2 separate regions of the Homo sapiens genome follow, and region 2 is linked to region 1. Evidence: promoter capture Hi-C in human tissues and cell types (Jung and others, 2019). All regions are on one chromosome and are shown on one strand. Each heading gives the region's core, a stretch centred on a gene start or on the middle of the fragment in contact. The rest is flanking DNA. Distances are from core to core; before and after follow the strand shown.

The links. The method cuts DNA at HindIII sites, captures the fragments that hold promoters and counts their contacts. A contact is called where the count stands out against the background at its distance.
Region 2: a contact is called between a fragment that was not itself captured here and the fragment with the promoter of CNTLN in region 1, in 2 of the 25 tissues and cell types used here (H1 embryonic stem cells and lymphoblastoid cells).

What each region holds. Positions count from the first base shown.
Region 1 is chr9:17,130,949-17,136,920 of GRCh38, forward strand. CNTLN (centlein) reads left to right here and starts at 4,092. Exons shown (of 26, transcript NM_017738.4): 1 at 4,092-4,477. The coding sequence starts at 4,118. RefSeq lists an enhancer at 4,373-4,936. The HindIII fragment of the contact is 19,584 bases long and covers 1-5,972 here.
Region 2 is chr9:17,215,179-17,220,456 of GRCh38, forward strand. All of the region lies in intron 2 of CNTLN (centlein), which reads left to right. Among named protein-coding and RNA genes, the nearest start is that of CNTLN, 83 kb to the left of the region's middle. The HindIII fragment of the contact is 6,789 bases long and covers 1-4,981 here.

The DNA.
Region 1 (5,972 bases), core at 2,842-5,341:
ATCCTCTTTATTTACCTCTACTAACTTCTGGATTGAGATTTGTCCACACTAGGCTGTCATGATGCATCTACTACTGACTCAAGCATCACATCGGCACATTCTAGCTTATGGATTTTTCTTTTGATGCTGAAGCAAGTGATTCTTGATTTAAATCTCTAGGACATGGCAAAGACTAAAAACTGAGATAAATTCCTAAAATGATATGAAAAGAAATCTAAGATGTTTGAGGTCTTACCAATACCTAATAGTGTTTTAAAACTTAATTAAATTATGCTGACCAAATAAAGATTACACAAAACTGGTAAAGCAGAAATACATGGGTTTTAAAATTCTTCATTCTTTCTGGAAACAAAGAAACATAAAGGCTGAGAAACGGCTAATACATTTTTTCTCTTTTAAAACAGAAGTTAAAAATAAATTTTAAAAATTAAAGTAAAAGAGGCAATTTAAGTACCATATTAATTGGCACATTTCTTCCATTATTTCCCAAGATTTCGACTATACAGTGATGATATTGAGAGAATTATGTGTTTCTCTATTCTAATATACTTAATCCTCAGCAGACTTCATTATGTATTTCTTCAGAACAGACACTATCACTTTTAAATATTAGGACAAAGAGTTGAACAGGAAAAACACCTTGATTGTTTTGCACATTTTTATTCACATAGCAGTGCAGATATTTAACTTATCCTTCTGAGTCATAAGTGTTTGTATTTAACATTTCATCCGTTTCTGTCATTTCAGCAAATAACTAATACAAGAAAGAACTCCTTATGCATACTTCTAGAAATGTGCACGTTTCTTTTCTTAAAAATTGTCTGCCAGTAAAGAACTTTTATAACTCTACAACAAAAAGACAAATAACCCAATTAAAAAATAGCAAAGAACTTGAATAAATAGATATTTCTCCAAAGAAGAGAAACAAATGTCCAAAAAATACATGAAAATATGCTCATTGTCATTAGTCATGGGGAAAAATACAAATGAAAACCACAAGGAGACAGCACTTTACACCCACTAGACTGGCCATAAAAAACAAACAACAACGCATGCTCTCACTCATAGGTGGGAATTGAACAATGAGAACACTTGGACACAGGGTGGGGAACATTACACACTGGGGCCTGTCATCGGGTGGGGGGAGGAGGGAGGGATAGCATTAGGAGATATACCTAATGTAAATATGAGTTAACGGGTGCAGCACACCAACATGGCACATTTATACCTATGTAACAAACCTGCACGTTGTGCACATGTACCCTAGAACTTAAAGTATAATTTAAAAAAAGCAAATGACACAAAACTAAAACAAAAAATAAGTGTTGGTGAGGATGATGAGAAATTAGAATGCTAATACATTGCTTATGGGAAGGTAAAATGACACAACCACTGTGGAAAAGAGTTTGGTGATTCCTCAGTAAATTAAACATATGACCTAGACATTCTACTCATAGGTATATAAACAAAAAATTGAACATAAATGTTCAGACAAAAACCTGTACGTGAATGTTTATAGCAGCTCTGTTCACAATAGGCAAAAGGCAGAAAGAACCCAAAGGTCCATTAACAGATGAATGGATAAACAAAATGGAGGATATCCATACAATGGTATATTTTCAGCTATAAAAAAGAATGAAGTACTAATACATGCCATAACATAGATGAACCTTGAAAACATTATGCTAATAAAAGAAAACAGACACAAAAGGCCACATATTATATGGTTCCATTGATATGAAATATCCCAAACAGGCAAAACCGTAGAGACATAAAGGGAATTAATGGTTGCTTGGGGCTCGGGGGCAGTGAGAATGTGGAGAGACTAATGTGGGTATGTGGTTTCCGCCTCCGGTGATGAAAATATTCTGGAACCAGATAGTGGTGGTGGTTGCCTAACATGGTGAATGTAGTTAATGCTGCTGAATTGTTTTTTATTTGTAGCCATTTTATTTATTTATTTATTTTTTGAGACAGTCTTGCTTTATCACCCAGGCTGGAGTGCAGTGGTATGATCTTGGCTGTTTGCAACCTCTGCCTCCCGTGTTCCAATGATTCTCCTGCCGTGGCCTCTCTAGTAGCTGGGATTACGGGAATGCACCACCACTCCCAGCTAATTTTTGTATTTTTAGCAGAGACGGGGTTTCACTATGTTGTCCAGGCTGGTCTCGAACTCCTGGTCTCAAGTGATCCACCAGCCTCGGCCTCCCAAAGTGCTGGGATTGCAGTCGTGAGCTACCACGCCTGGCCTATTTGTAGCCATTTAAAATGCCTACGATGGTAAATTTTATGTTGTGTATTTTGTGTATTTTGCTCCAATAAAGACAAAATTTAAAAAAATGCCTAGTCAAAGAGTCAGGATATTATCCTTTTGGGAGGTCACATATACATATTTATACCACTGCTTTTCAAAAGGATCTTTTTATGATCAGGTGAAATGATGTCCTTTTGAGTGAATGACATACAGCAATTAAAAATGTGCATTAATACTGATTTGGGGCCAAACACGTAACTTATGTGGTTAGACTTCCCAGTCTTAAGTCTAGTGAAATCTCACAGACTATCAAGACCAAATGTTGTATTTCAAGTCACAGGTGTGGAGACAGGGTAGCGATCAAAGTACAGGTTTTCAGAGTTAAGTGGAATTCAGTGAATTCAAAGCCTAGCTTTTCTGATACCAGACATGGCACTTCAGAGAAGTTACAGTAACCTTGCAAGTCTGTTTCCTCACTAGTAAAAATGGAGATATATAATAATCTAATTGAAGGTGACATATGTATTAAGTGAGTTCATATATGAAAAGTGCTTAGCACTGGACTCAGCATATGGTAAATGTTCAGTAGGTTAGCTAGTTCTAAGACAGGCTTATAAACATACTTTTTCTAATGTACTCTTTAATAAGTTTTTGTGAGGAATTCACCTTCAGTTTGAAAGAAGTCCACTTATCTTGGTTGCCTTGGCAGGATTCTAATTGGGAGGGTGTCTTTTGGCATCCTGACTAGATTCTCATGCAGAGATGGTGATATTTTGGTTAAATGAAGTTAACAGTAAAGTGGTCATCTCTCTACTTCTGCTCTCAACCCCCATCTCAGCTTTCCCCAAGTATTCTGGAACCCTTTCTGAAGAAGAGGGCAGTTCTAACTTTCAGGGATGTTCTGGTGCCAGCTCAATATGCATCTCATTAATCTTATCAATAGTAACAAAGTATTTGAAGGGCAAAGAAAGATACGATTACTACCTATTTGAAGTTTATAAAGAAAGCCAGAAGAAAAAGAAAAAAAAGAGAACAAAAGATAAAGTAGGTCTTGTTTCTTCATCCACGCTCCAAATTACTGATTTCAAACTGCTCCAAGGACCCAAACTGTTCAGCAATGTGGGCTACACTTCCTCTGATATCCAGCCAACGCATAAAGAAGCTGACATAAAAACTCAAAGGAAATCATGACTCCTGCAAAACAAAAGACAAAGGGTGTACAAAGGATCATCATTCAAGTTGGAAACCTGCTTGATAGTCCCAGATCAGCACAAGGCTTTCCACATCTCCTTGACATTAGTCAGCTGGATGTCAGCTGTACTAAAGCAGTTTTGCCAAGGGGTGTGAAGAAAACACTTAAGTGTAAAACGTATTCCTTGATCCTCAAGGAGCTTACAACAGGGCTGGGGAGATTAGCCGTGTAACTGACACTCCAGGGCGGTCAATGAAACGTGTCACACGAGTTGGCAGGGGCCTTGAAGGAGAGGGATTTCACAGTTAAGGATCATTTGGGGCTGGGGGCTTGTCAAGGAAGGCTTTAAGAGGTGGGATGTAAGTGGCAGGCAGGGCTTTAGGTGGGCGGGAAATCCAGGCGATCCTGGCCAAGGACTCAGGCACAGGACGCTGGGATGGCCTGCCCGGCGGACCGGCCTTACCCTTTCGGGCCACGGCGCGTGCGTACCCCAAGGCTCGCGCTGGGCGCATTGCCCGCGGGAAGCCGGCCAGGACCAGAGAACACGGGACACCGCGGGCCAAGGCGGGAAAAGCCTCGCGCATGCGCGGTTCGGCGTTCCGGGCTCGCCGGGTTGGGGAAAGGGAGGTGGAGTTTCCAACAGGGAACTTGACCCGTTAGCAGCCGCAGCCATGGCGGCGCGTTCGCCTCCCTCACCGCACCCTTCGCCCCCAGCGCGACAGCTGGGCCCCAGGTCCCCACGTGTTGGGCGGGGAGCTGAAGTACACGCAATGCGCAGCGAGGCCTCGGGTTTTGCCGGCGCAGCGCGGGAGGTGGTCGCGGACGAAAGTGATAAAATCTGGGTGGGTGAAGAAGGGTCAGGGGGCCGGCGAGGGCCTGGGGGGGCAGCTCCGGCTCATGCTCCCCTCCTCAGCGCGCCCATGGGGTCCAGACGGCTAGAGGGCATCTCGGTAGAGGAGGCGATGGTGACCCGGACGCAGCTGCTGGAGGAAGAGCTGAGCAGCCTAAAGGAGGAGTTGGCCCTGTGTCAGGTATCGAGGAGTCTCGCAGTCCCCCTTTCCCCACCACAGCGGGGCCGGGACCCGTGGGGAGGCGCGCCTTTCTCCCTCTGCCTTGGGACCTACCCCGCCCAGCGACGCTCCCTGGCAGATGCACACCCTGCTTCGCTCGCGGCCGGGGGCTGGAGGGACGCGGCTGCGCCCGGCTCCCCAAACCCGGGCCCCTGCCCCTTTCCGAACTGCGGCCAGACAGGCTTCGCCTCCGCGCCCGGGTTTGGTTTTGGTCACTTGGATACTCGCAGTCGCATCCTCTCCGCTTCCCCCCCAAGCCCAAGTTCTTGGTGGTGACGGTAGCTGATACCTGCCGGGGGCCCAGGAGTGACATGCAGTCCACTAGTTGAAATGAACAGGAAAGTGTAAACACTTCGGTTAGAGTAAAATCCATCGATGAAGGAGCCTGTTTTTAAAATTTCAAACCCACACTTGGCTTTGTTTTTACCCAGTCAAACTTAAGTTGTAAACACAGACGAGTAACGTTTAGAAAGTCTCAGAGCCGGGAACTTAACAATAGATGATGCTTGGTACTTGTTTATTAACCAGCTATGGTAATTCCGCGGTCCTTGAGTGAGAAATCACATTTTCATGTGATCTTGCCAGTGAAAAACATTTGCTAAATCAATTGCATTAAAATTACTTTCCTGTTTGTAGAGTTTTTGTAAGGATGGACTTGACTATACTCATGTTCAAAGAGATTGAATTTTCCTTTAGTTTTGCATCCTTACCATCATCTCTTTTGATTTTACCAGAACCTTTAGATAGGGTTGGGAGATTGGATGTGGGAAACTCACTGAACAGTAGATCTTTAAGTCACTCTGTCTTCAACTTAGAAACCAATTAGGAGCTGCTGAACATCAAAGTAACTTTGTGAACAGTATCATCAGTTTAATAAAACAGTTCATGAAATTCATTCTCTGTCGCCCAGGCTGGAGTGCAGTGGTGCAGTCTCAGCTCACTGCAAGCTCCGCCTCCCGGGTTCACGCCATTCTCCAGCCTCAGCCTCCCGAATAGCTGGGACTACAGGTGTCCGCCACCACGCCTGGCTAATTTTTTGTATTTTTAGTAGAGATGGGGTTTCACCGTGTTAGCCAGGACAGTCTCGATCTCCTGACCTCGTGGTCCGCCAGCCTTGGCCTTCCAAAGTGCTGGGATTACAGAAATTCATTCTCTCATAGTTTGTTCTGTTGGATTCTTTTGCCCATTTTATAGGTCCTTGCTGACTGAGTGAAGGGTGTAAAAATGGGACCATCTTCAAATTGAATGTGCCTTTGGTTAAACAAGGTTGGGACATTTAATATGGTGCCCTCTTTTCGTTTTACCATTTTTCTGTTCTTCGTTGGATAAGGAGCAAAGGGATAAATAAATGACAACAATGAATTGAAGCATTTGTCATCTGCAGACCTCACCCTTTGGGGAGTTTTAAGATGTGAACCCATGATAAAGGCCTTTGATACTCTGAGTCCTAATCTAA
Region 2 (5,278 bases), core at 337-2,836, 82 kb after region 1:
TAGTTTTATCTACCTTTGGTCTTTGATGATGGTGACGTACAGATGGGGTTTTGGTGTGGATGTCCTTTCTGTTTGTTAGTTCTCCTTCTAACAGTCAGGACCATTAGCTGCATGTCTGTTGGAGTTTATTGGAGGTCACTGCAGAACCTCTTTGCCTGGGTGTCAGCAGCGGAGGCTGCAGAACAGCGAATTTTGCTGAACAGCAAATGTTGCTGCCTGATCATTCCTCTGGAAGCTTCATCTCAGAGGAGTACCCAGACATGTGAGGTGTCAGTCTGCCCCTACTAGGGGGTGCCTCCCAGTTAGGCTACTCGGGGGTCAGGGAACCACTTGAGGAGGCAGTTTGACCATTCTCAGATCTCACACTCCATACTGGGAGAACGACTGCTCTCTTCAAAGCTGTCAGACAGGGACATTTAAGTCTGCAGAGATTTCTGCTGCCTTTTGTTTGGCTATGCCCTGCCCCCAGGGGTGGAGTCTGTGGAGGCTGGCAGGCCTCCTTGAACTGCGGTGGGCTCCACGCAGTTCGAGCTTCTTGGCCGCTTTGTTTACCTACTCAAGCCTCAGCAATGGTGGGCACCCCTTCTCCAGCCTCGCTGCCACCTTGCAGTTCGATCTCAGACTGCTGTGCTAGCAATGAGCGAGGCTCCGTGGGTGTGGGACCCTCTGAGCCAGGCGCGGGGTATAATCTCCTGGTGTGCCGTATGCTAAGACCGTTGGAAAAGCGCAGTATTAGGGTGGGAGTGACCTGATTTTCCAGGTGCTGGTTGTCACAGCTTCCGTTTGCTAGGAAAGGGAAATCCCTGACCCCTTACACTTCCCGGGTGAGGCAGTGCCTCACCCTGCTTTGGCTCACATTCGGTGGGCTGCACCCACTGTCCTGCACCCACTATCTGACAAGCCCCAGTGAGTTGAACCCGTTACCTCAGTTGGAAATGCAGAAATCACCCATCTTCTGAGTTGCTCACTCTTGGAGCTGTAGACTGGAGCTGTTCCTATTTGACCAACTTGGAACTGTCCCCCAGGCTATTTTTAATAATTAGTGGTTAAGAACACAAGCCGTTGAGTCAGGTAACTGGATTTGTAATCCTGGCTTGCTAGTTGTGTAAATTTTGAAGATGTGGTTTGCTTTCTTTTTAATATTCTGTACTTTTTTTGTAGACTTGTTAATACTTTTTTCTTGTGCTCACTTTCCTATTTTCAGTTCTTTTCCTCCTCCTGTTTGGTAATGAAAACTCAATTCTGGAAAATTAGAATGGTAAAAGGGAATAAAGGCAAGATGATTTTTAGATTTTATTGACATGTTTTTATTGGCCGGTTTATTAAGATTTTATTGATACATTTATCAAGGATATGTGTGCTATATCCTTGATACACTTGGTTCAAAGATTTAATTTCATAGTAAAGGAGAGATTGTCTTATTTTTATTTCTATTTCTTATTTTATTTCAATTTTTAGAGTTAAAGTTTACATGTTTGCATGTTTGATAGGGAGACTATTTCTGTAAGTTTATGTTATATTCTCTCACTACTGGGACCACCTCCCTCCTGCTCCTTTCCACTCTAAAGCACTTGGGTTACACAGCTGCTATATGGTTGTACCCTGTCCCATGTGTATTAAGCCAACATAGGCTGCAAAGGGGTTGCAGTTTGGAGCATGATAGTAGCGTGGCTGTTTGGAGACCCCAGAACTGTAGCTGCCAGAATTATGCCATCTGGTAGCAATGCTGCCAGGCAGTTCCACCCAGGGCATAAATGTATTTTTGCTGAGCACTTTTCGTGTTGCAAGAGCCATGATTGCCTAGGCAGGGATGTGGATGGATGGTCATGGGAACTAACTGAAAGGTGTTTAATTGGAACCACTCTAATGTTCAAGGTGAGAGTACTTGCAATAAACATGAAGAATCACATTCAAACTTTTACAATAGATGCAGGAAGCTTAACCAAATAGTCTTTTAACTTTTATGAAGATTTTTAAATTAAATAATTGTGAGATTATAGTAAGGAATAGTTACTTTAAAAATTTAATCTTTATACACATGGCAGAAGGTGGTACAGAAACATAGCTTTTGTTTTTAAGGTAAAATAATTGTGATCACCTTTATTTGTTGAGAGTTTATTTCTGTTTTCTTAAAAATTCCCAGAACATTGAACGTAATTCAACATTCCATGGGGAAGAAAGTATTATGCAGCTTGCATGTGTGCATATCTGCATATCGGAGCACAAAATATTGACATGATAATTGTAGTCAAGCCTGAGTGAACAGTGGCCTGTGGGAATTCAGCTGGTGTTGTACCAACTGGATGGCTGCTCAGGACACAGTTTGAAATGCAAGGTGCAAGTTAGCACTTTATTCAGCACAGGCAGGCATCATTTAAAAATCCTTGGGGGCAACCCTGGTGATGTGCAGATGTTAAAACAGTCTGTTCTGAAGTGCTGATTTTCAAACACTGGAAGAAACTTCTAGATTCTGGGTGAAAAATATTTGCACAATCATGAAAGGCATATAATGCACAATCATAAAAGGCATATAATACACAATCTTTTCCTACTCTTTTATGTTGTTTTACATAATAAATGTTGAGTATATGCAGAAATATCTGGACAAATAGTTAAAAGAGATGAAATATAAGAAAATCAGGAAATAGTCACTTAATTTCTAACTATAAAACAGAAAAAGGTTTTGTTTTGAGTTTCAGCTTTGTATATTTAGAAATGGTGTTGAATGAGTATCTGATATATAAAGAGTATCTGATCTTATTTAATACTATATTTAATATAAGCAGATGTGTTCTTTTGAATTGTTGCTTCTTTGTTTAAAGGGTTCATCTGTACTCCATAATTTACAGATTCAGATTCACATCTTAGCCTGATAATCTTCTGCATTTTAGTCTGATTGAATAAGGAAAAAAATGTCCATCATTTGTCGTTTGCCAACTTCTCCAGCACAAGTTTTGGCTTTCAAATATAATTTTAAACATGTATTTTATACTGGAAATTAAATATAATAGTTCTAAATTCTGGATTATACAATAAAAACTCAGTTTTGTATAAAAGCAAAGTAGATATATTAACTATACTTGAGCCTTTAAAACATTTTATATCAAAGTTTTTACATGAATTAAGATCTGTTGAATTATTTTTATTCCACATATTAAAGTTTTCTTTTTTTAAATATTTGCTTTTACTGTGGAGTAAAATGTGTTTGTACAATATTTTTGCAACCTCTTTTTCAAGTTTTATTATTGTTATATTGTTTATAGATGCCATTCCAGTAATTCACTATGCGTATTCATAAGAAGAAATACTTATAAAATAGTTCATGAATAAATGGATAATTTGATGATGGCATAACTTTGATTTCTCTGAACTTCTGTTATTAAGTCTTACTGTTTTAGAATCTTAGTGTTTACTAGAAATTGGGAATTGTTTAAATTGCAAACCATTGATATGTATAAAATCTGCATTTTAATAGGTTCTCTACTCAAATGAAAGAAAACGTTAGTCCAATAAATAGCTTTATTTTGTGTGTTATTTATGTCTGTAAATCAAAAATAACCAACTTCAGTAAGTTTTGCTTTTTTATTTTGTTTATAAATTCAGACCAATATCACTGCCTCATTTATAGTTGGATGTTTTTTTAGACTCTAATATTTCATTTTGACATCTCATTAAAAGTGGGCTCAAACCCAGAAAATATGATCCTGTTGTAGTGTATAATATATGGCATGGTCTATAACATAATAAAATTTTGTTTCTTAATGATTCAGAATAATTTCTCAGATTTTTGAGCTTAGAAAAATGACTGAAAGTTAGCGTGGTAATTCATGTGGCTAAGTACAGCATTGTTAAAATGTTTAAATGGGAAGTACTCTTGGGAAAAATGATTGGTGCTTAAAAGTTGTACAGATTTGACAGCCTCTCTTCGCTTCATTTTTCATTCTAAAGAAGTCGGCAAATATTCTTCGCTCACATCATTATTGCACATCAGTGGTTCTAATTAGCTAAACAGGAGTTTGTCTCAGTCATTGATCATCATCAGCTCCTGGCAGTGTCTTTTTTTTTCTTTTTAAGGAACCTTTTTTTTTTTAGGTCTTGTAAGTACATAGAAGTACATGTATTAATTGAATTGACCAGATTGGTTGGTGACATTATAAACTTGAAACAATATTTAAAAATTTTATTTTTTCAAGTAGAAAATATTGTATTCCTGTTACAGCACCATTTTATCTTGGGAGCATTTTCCTGTTATGAAAATGTTAGACATCTCATACCACCAGGAGGAGCTGCTAGACAAATTGCCATATTTTGAGTTTTGATTATCTTTCAATTTCAAAATTATAACATATTAGTCAATTTTGGAGGTTTTTGGTTATAAGATATACCATTCAGGTATATTTTTGAAGTTTTTATTTTATATGGCACTTATGACCCATTTTTTCAATATTATGTCACTCAGATTAATCTACTGGGAAGTGTGTTATTGTTATTTTGGTGACTCTCACACTTTAGTGTGCATCAGAATCGCTTGAGATCTTGTGTCTTAGTCAGTTCTGACTGCTAAAACAGAATCCTGGGTGGCTTAAATAACAAACATTTATTCTCATGGTTCCAGGAAGTACAAAATTAAAATGCTAGCCAATGTGGTTTCTGGTGAGGGCTCTTTGTAAATGGCTGCCTTTTTGTTGTATCCTCATATGACACCGAGAGATCTTCTCTCTAGTGTCCCCTCTCATTAAGGTGCTACTCCCATTCATGAAGGAGTAATCCTCATGACCCTAATTGCCTTTCATAGGCCTACCTCCAAATACTATGACATTGGTTATTAGGGCCTCAATATATGAATTTTGAGGAGACACAAACCTTCAGTCCATAGCACCTTGTTAAACACAGATTGCTGGGCCCCCACTCTTACAGTTCTTGATTCAGTGCATCTGGATTGGGCTGAAGAACATGCATTTCTAACCTGGGTGATGATGATGCTCGTGCTCTGGCAACCTAACCACTAGTTAGACTGTGAGTATGTGTACATACTTGTGTCATAGGAGATAATTAGCCTAGTATCAAGCTCATTTGGAAGCTGTAATAATGCTTTTGTTTGGGTTTGGTGTCACATAATCTAGTATTATCCGTATCTCATTTAAAAGTACTACCAGAATTTATTTGGACATTAGTGGGGATCTTAAGTTTATTATAGAAGAGGGGATTATAAAGACTAACCGTACAGTTTTTTTAAAAACATTTAAGTTTAGGGGTACATGTGCAGGTTTGTAATGTA